Regions from separate parts of the Homo sapiens genome. Here region 2 is linked to region 1. The links are contacts of gene promoters, found by promoter capture Hi-C in human tissues and cell types (Jung and others, 2019). All regions are on one chromosome and are shown on one strand. Each heading gives the region's core, a stretch centred on a gene start or on the middle of the fragment in contact. The rest is flanking DNA. Distances are from core to core; before and after follow the strand shown. Region 1 holds the start of SCIMP (SLP adaptor and CSK interacting membrane protein). Region 2 holds the start of ZFP3 (ZFP3 zinc finger protein).

Region 1 (3,397 bases), core at 385-2,884:
CTCATGATCCGCCTGCCTTGGCCTCCCAAAGTGCTGGGATTTCAGGCGTGAGCCACTGTGCCCGGCCTAGAAGAAAATTTTAAATTGGCTTTTAGGAAGGTTTTTTAGCAGCTAAACTTTGGATGAGCCTAAGAAGAAAGAGTTCAGGCCTTGGCCAGGTGCAGTGGCTCAACTCTGTAATCCCAGCACTTTGGGAGGCCGAGGCAGGTGGATCACTTGAGGTCAGGAGTTCGAGACCAGCCTGGCCAACATGGTGAAACCCTGTCTCTACTAAAAATACAAAGATTAGCCGGATGCGGTGGCACACACCTGTAGTCCCAGCTACTTGGGAGGCTGAGGCAGGAGAATTGCTTGAACCTGGGAGTCGGAGGTTGCAGTGTGCTGAGATTGAGCCACTGCACTCCAGCCTGGCGACAGAGTGAGACTGCATCTCAAAAAAAAAAAAAAAAAAGAAAGAAAGAAAGAAAAAGAAAAAAGAAATTAGTAAACACTGCAAATCAGGAATCTTCTGAGCCAGATGTTTTGTTTTGTTTGTTTGAGATAGAGTCTTGCTCTGTTGCCCAGGCTGGAGCGCAATGGTGTGATCTTGGCTCACTGCAACCTCCACCTCGCGGGTCCAAGCAATTCTCCCGCCTCAGCCTCCTGAGTAGCTGGGACTACCGGTTCACACCAAAATGCCCAGCTAATTTTTGTATTTTTAGTAGAGATGGGGTTTCACCATGTTGGCCAGGCTGGTCTCGAACTACTGACTTCAGGTGATCCACCCGCCTTGGCCTCCCAAAGTGCTGGGATTACAGGTGTGAGCCACCGCACCCAGCCAGAGCCCGGTGTTTGTTAAATTTACCAGACATATATCAGACATTATCAGATATTTATCAGACATATCTGGTTATCATTATTACTGAAATGGATAACAACTCATTCGCTCTGGGCAAATACAATGCACATCCGTTTGCCTATTTTTACTAATGTGACTGCTCATTTGAGTCAGAACCAGCCAATTCAACAAAATGGCTAATTGGTTTCCCCACTCCAACCCCCATGGTCAGAGGCCGTGGGCCTCGCTGGGAGTTCTGTCTCACAGTATTGCACGAGGGGACCCAACTCAGTCAAAATGCTCCACTGGCCACATTTCTCAAGGTCGCCACTCACACGCCTTTAGAAACAGGAAGCCTGTCCCTTGCCTCCTCCAAGCAGAAGATGTCTCAGCAGTTCCAAGGTGCACAGGAGCTTTCAAGAGTCACCTTCATGGTGAGATGGTGAGTTTGTCACACATGAGCTGGTTTCTTACCTGGATCTGTCTCTGCATGGGAGCTGGCGTCCTGTCGCTCTTCTTGAGACTGAGGTTGCCACATCCAGGAATGCTCACGGCAAACTCGTCTGTGGGGACACCAAACCCACCCCCACTGCCAAGTCTCCACCCTGGCCCCTGGCCCCTGCCAGGACCCCCTACCACACCATGAGGGTCCTCTGGTAGGCCTTGCGGGAGCGACACGGGGCAGTGAGAAGATTCTGGCTTCTGGACAGCCGTGGGTCATGAGCTTCCCTGGAAAAGGGATGGTTGCCTAGAGATGACGCCAGGGTCTCTGCCCCGTGGGCTGACTAGAAAGGGGAAGTGGTCAGGATGGGGCTCACTGTCTCTAGCAGTGGGTGAAGGCCTGTGAGTGAGGAATGCCTCTCACCAGCTGTGCCTGAGCTGCAGCACTCCAGCCACTGCTGTCTCCTTAGCTGCTCACATATGGATACTTTCACAGTTCAGGTAAGCATCTCAGCTTTCCAAGGGACAGTTTCCTGCTCTCTTCACAGCAGACATCTGCCAGCGCTGGCATCAGGGCGTGTCCCTGGGAGCCACCGATCAGCACTGGGCCAGGGGATTGCAGCCTGGGGCCCTGGTACGACTGCTGTGTAGGGTTGGAGAAAAACTTGCATTGAAGGATCTGCTCTACTGGTAACTGGCTGAGTGACCTGAGGCATCACTTCACCTCTCTGGGCCTTTTCCTCATGTGTATGTCAGGGGCGATGAAGAAGTCTACCTCTTGGATTGAAATGAGATAATGACCGGGAGTGAGAGGTCTCAACTGTAACGAGTTACTCTCACTTTCTGGATGCCGATGGTGTGTTTTGGGACTTGTTATGTGAGAAGACTGTCATGGTGCTATGCTGGAGGTGGGGGTGGGAGCGAGGCACTGACTGTGTCAATTTATTTATTTTTATTTTATTTTGAGATGGAGTTTCGCTCTTGTCGCCCAGGCTGGAGTGCAGTGACGTGATCTCGGCTCACTGCAACCACCGCCTCCCGGGTTCAAGCGATTCTCCTGCCTCAGCCTCCTGAGTAGCTGGGATTACAGGCACCCGCCACCACACCTGGCTAATTTCTGTATTTTTAGTAGAGACGGAGTTTCACCATGTTGGCCAGGCTGCTCTCGAACTCCTGACCTCAGGTGATCCGCCCGCCTCGGCCTCCCAAAGTGCTGGGATTACCGTAGCATGAATTTAGGCTACGTCTTGGGGCTCTTGGATGAAAGACCTGGATCACCTCCAGTCTTGGTACCTTTGTCATTGCATCTCTGGCTTTCAGTAGTTCATTAGGCACCTTCCCTTCCAGAGGCCTCGAGATCAAAGTGTGTTGGGCTGGCGTGAGTTCTCGGTGTAGCCATCTGCTTTTGCCCTCTGGAAAATTATTTTGAGAAGAGATCTGGGTTTGGCTTTGCCATATCCACTCCCACTGCCTGGTGTGTCCACTTGTCCCTGAGGTCTTGGCCATGAAGCAATGTGGAGCACAGGCTTCACTCTGCTTCAGTGGTAAATAACTACTGAGAGGCAGGCGGGGCATGGTGGCTCACGCCTCTAATCCCAGCACTTTGGGAGGCCAAGGTGGGCAGATCACAAGGTCAAGAGATCAAGACCAGCCTGGCCAACATGGTGAAACCCTGTCTCTACTACAAATACAAAAATTAGCTGGGCATGGTGGTGGGCGCCTATAGCCCCAGCTACTCGGGAAGCTGAGGCAGGAGAATCGTTTGAGCCCGGGAGGTGGAGGTTGCAGTGAGCCAAGATTATGTCACTGCACTCCAGCCTGGTGACAGAGCAAGACTCCATCTCAAAAACAAACAAACAAACTACTGAGAGGCTTAAAGCAAGGAAGGGACAGGGTCACACTGGTATTTGGCAGCCAGTGGGGAGCCCAGTGGGGGCTAGGGGCCAGCGAAAATGCAATGGTCCAGGTACAGAGATGAGGACTTGGACTACATTTGGAGGCTGATGGGCTGAAGCGGGGTGGGGATGGGGCCATGGGAGAAAGAGGAATGAGGCAAGGTTTCCGGTCTTTTCCAGAAGTGAAAGTATAGAGAAGGGAAGAAGAGAGGCTGGACTCCTTTTAATGACCCTGCCGTGCACT
Region 2 (3,386 bases), core at 597-3,096, 160 kb after region 1:
TTCGGGAATTCCTGGTTTGGAAATGGACATCCACCTTCATCTGGGTCAATATTTTGAGGACGTTTGCTGGGAGCTTCTGGGAATAGTTTCCTGCCATCCTGAGAGAACCATAGGAAAATACTTCCATATATTATTGCCTGTACCTGCTGCTGCCATCTCACTACCAGCCTGTGGATGAGGGCAGCTAAAGCTCAGAAAAACAAGGGAGATGCTGCCAGGGCCACTGGATTAATCAGTCCTGAAACCACGATACCTATTTTTTTTTTTTTCTTTGGAGATGGAGCCTCGCTCTGTCTCCCAGGCTGGAGTGCAATGGCGCAATCTTGGCTCACCGCAACCTCCGCCTCCCAGGCTCAGGCGATTCTCCCACCTCAGCCTCCCAAGCAGCTGGTATTACAGGCATCTGCCACCACGCCTGGCTAATTTTGTATTTCTAGTAGAGACAGGGTTTCACCATGTTGGCCAGGCTGGTCTCGAGCTCCTGACCTCAGGTGATCCGCCCACCTTTGCCTCCCAAAGTGCTGGGATTACAGGCATGAGCCATCACGCCCAGCTGACCCCCTCCATTTTCTTCCCTGACCCCCAGGCTCTAAGGCAGACAGCTACTCCTTCACCTTGTAGCAGCTACCCCACTGCATTATTAATTTTTCATACCTATTTTCTTCTCTAGACCATAAGCAAGGATGCTGTTCCATTCATCCTGGTATTCTGAGTACCTAGCATATTTCAGATACCTGGTAAATGTTAAGTGAATTTGTGTAACTGTCTTATATATATAATGAATCTGCAATACCTCCCTTTTTTCTGAGACAGGGTCTTGGCTCTATTGCCCAGACTCACTGCAGCTTCAACTTCCCAGGCTCAAGAAAATCCTCCCACCTCAGCCTCCCAAGTAGCTGGGACTACAAGCATGCGCCACCACACCCAACTACCCAACTAATTTCTTTGTTTTTTGTACAGATGGTGTCTCACTATGTTGCCCAGGCTGGTCTTGAACTCCTGTGCTCAAGTGATCCTCCCGCCTAGGCCTCCCAAAATGCTGGGATTACAGGCATGAGCCACTGCACCCAGCCTCTGTAATACTCTTGATGGCTAACTGGATATTTCATTCATCATTATATCTAAAGAGCCTAGGATAGTGTCTGACACATAGCTGGTGTCGATAACTGTTTGTAAAAATAAGTTCCTTTTCCCAATCTGGGTGATATTTAATTTATGGCACTGTTAACCTCCTTTCCTCTCTTCTCCCTCTGACCCACAATAGGGCTCTATCTTTGCAGCTCAAACCTGTCTCCTTTTCACGACCACCCCTCATAAGCCAATATCTTGTCTGGCAGCACAGGGCACAATCTGCCACTAGGGCGTTAAGTTTGTGACACTGCCCGCCATTTCGTCCTAGCGGTTTACTTGGGGGTGGAATGTCTGAGAAAACCACAGCTCCCACGGGTCCCCACCTCGGTACAGAAGGGAGTGTCCCTGCTTCTCCCACCCCCACGGCTGACAGGCACCAAACCAGAGCTGGGACTGTCCCTGGCGGTGTCCAGGCCCCACCCTCTCTGTGTGCAGGTGGAAATGAAGGCCTGGGGGCGGGGGGAATGGAGGGAGGCATAAACTTCAAGGTCACACAGCGAACCCCGGTCAGAACGGGCCTAAACGTAGGGTTTCCGCTCGGCTCTCTAGGGAGCTGGGAGCCCAGCCCCCGCCTACCCCCACAGCCGCGACGGAATGAGGTCTCACCGCAGGCCGCTACTGCCCCGCGCTCGCTCACTCCGCTGAGGCTCCGCGCTGCTGGGCCGCTCGCACAGAGCCCGCAGCTGTTGTCCCGGTGTCACTGGCGACGGGCATCGGCCACTTCCGGTACCCGGGCGGCACTCCAGCCAATCGGCGCGCGTCGCACTCCGCTGGAGGAACAGGTGGTCAGCGCACCGACGCCCCCTTGCCTTTTCCGGCTTGCTTTTCGCCGGTTCTAGCCCTAGCCCAAGTTCCACGTCGCCGCCGCCTGCCGAGCCGGCTCCCTGGAACAGCAAAGTGCACCCGTCGATGCCCACTTCAGCCCCGGAATCATTGACGACCTGAGTCCTCCGGGTTTCCTAGAACGGCTCCGGGGATGAACTTCCGCTCCGCGATCTGCCGCTCTGCGCCCTCGTGTCGCTCCCCAAGCATTGCTCTAGGCTCAAGAACTCGAGAATCCGCTTCGCATTCCCGCGGGGACCGTTTGCGCGACCCTTTTAACTCTCCCAACCCGCATCGTTCTTATCCCATCCTTCCTTTCCACAGACTCCGTGGGTCTGATAAGCACAGGGCTGCAGATCCTGGGAACAGGTCTCTCCTCGGCGGGAGCGAAGGGAGACATGCTTTGAGTTCCGGAAGGGCTTGCAGGAGTGACGTTTGGCCTGAAATCTCAAGATTGCGTGGGAATTACCAAGGTTAAGAGTAAAGGCCTAGGTTAAGCTGCCGAGGCCACGGAAACAGCATTCTGCAGCTAGCCTTCCTGGGTTCCCTGAGCAAGCTTGGCCCATTCTCACCTCAGAACCTTTCCTTGTTACTTCCTCTGTAATTTTGCACAGCCAGCTTGTTTTCTTGTTTGTTTGTTTTTTGAGATGGAGTTTCGCTCTTGTTGTCCAGGCTGGAGTGCGATGGCGCCATCTCCGCTCACCGCAACCTCCGCCTCCCGGATTCAAGCGATTCTCCTACTTCAGCCTCCCCGAGTAACTGGGATTACAAGCATGTGCCACCACGCCCGGCTAATTTTGTATTTTAGGTAGAGACGGGTTTTCTCCATTTTGGTCAGGCTGGTCTCGAACTCCCGACCTCAGGTGATCCGGCCGCCTCGGCCTCCCAAAGTGCTGGGATTACAGACATGAGCCACCGCGCCCGGCCTCCAGCTTGTTTTTGTTTGTTTTTTGAGGCGGAGTTTCGCTCTTGTCGCCAAGGCTGGAGTGCAATGGCACGATCTCTGCTCACTGCAACCTCCACCTCCCGGGTTCAAGCGATTCTCCAGCCTCAGCCTCCAGAGTAGCTGGGATTACAAGTGCCAGCCACCACGCCCGGCTAATTTTTGTATTTTTAGTAGAGACGGGGTTTCACCATGTTGGTCAGGCTGGTCTCGAACTTCTGACCTTAGGTCAGACCTTAGGCCCACCTTGGCCTCCCAAAGTGCTGGGATTACAGGCGTGAGCTACCGCGTCCAGCCAGCCAGTTTGTTTTTAGGTGTCAGTTCCAAGATCACCACATTGAAGACTTTCATTCTATATAATGTTGCCTCAGAGTACACTATCCTTCCCAAATATCAGTTACAAAGGACTATGATTAGCCCTGTTTGGGTCTGGTGCTCAACCATGGACCAATCAAGGGGGAAAGGACCGTGTGATTTACCAAGCCTGGTC

Evidence for each region. The method cuts DNA at HindIII sites, captures the fragments that hold promoters and counts their contacts. A contact is called where the count stands out against the background at its distance.
Region 2: a contact is called between the fragment with the promoter of ZFP3 here and the fragment with the promoter of SCIMP in region 1, in 1 of the 25 tissues and cell types used here (mesendoderm cells).

Annotation. Positions count from the first base shown.
Region 1 is chr17:5,233,097-5,236,493 of GRCh38, reverse strand. It overlaps SCIMP (SLP adaptor and CSK interacting membrane protein), which reads left to right and starts at 1,634. Exons shown (of 5, transcript NM_207103.3): 1 at 1,634-1,759. The coding sequence starts at 1,739. It overlaps ZNF594-DT (ZNF594 divergent transcript), which reads right to left. Exons shown (of 6, transcript NR_152840.1): 6 at 491-1,380. RefSeq lists an enhancer at 1,193-1,392. The HindIII fragment of the contact is 19,973 bases long and covers 1-3,397 here.
Region 2 is chr17:5,076,927-5,080,312 of GRCh38, reverse strand. It overlaps ZFP3 (ZFP3 zinc finger protein), which reads right to left and starts at 1,846. Exons shown (of 2, transcript NM_153018.3): 1 at 1,738-1,846. It overlaps ZFP3-DT (ZFP3 divergent transcript), which reads left to right and starts at 2,200. Exons shown (of 2, transcript NR_186458.1): 1 at 2,200-2,426. RefSeq lists enhancers at 2,070-2,139, 1,507-2,378. The HindIII fragment of the contact is 17,416 bases long and covers 1-3,386 here.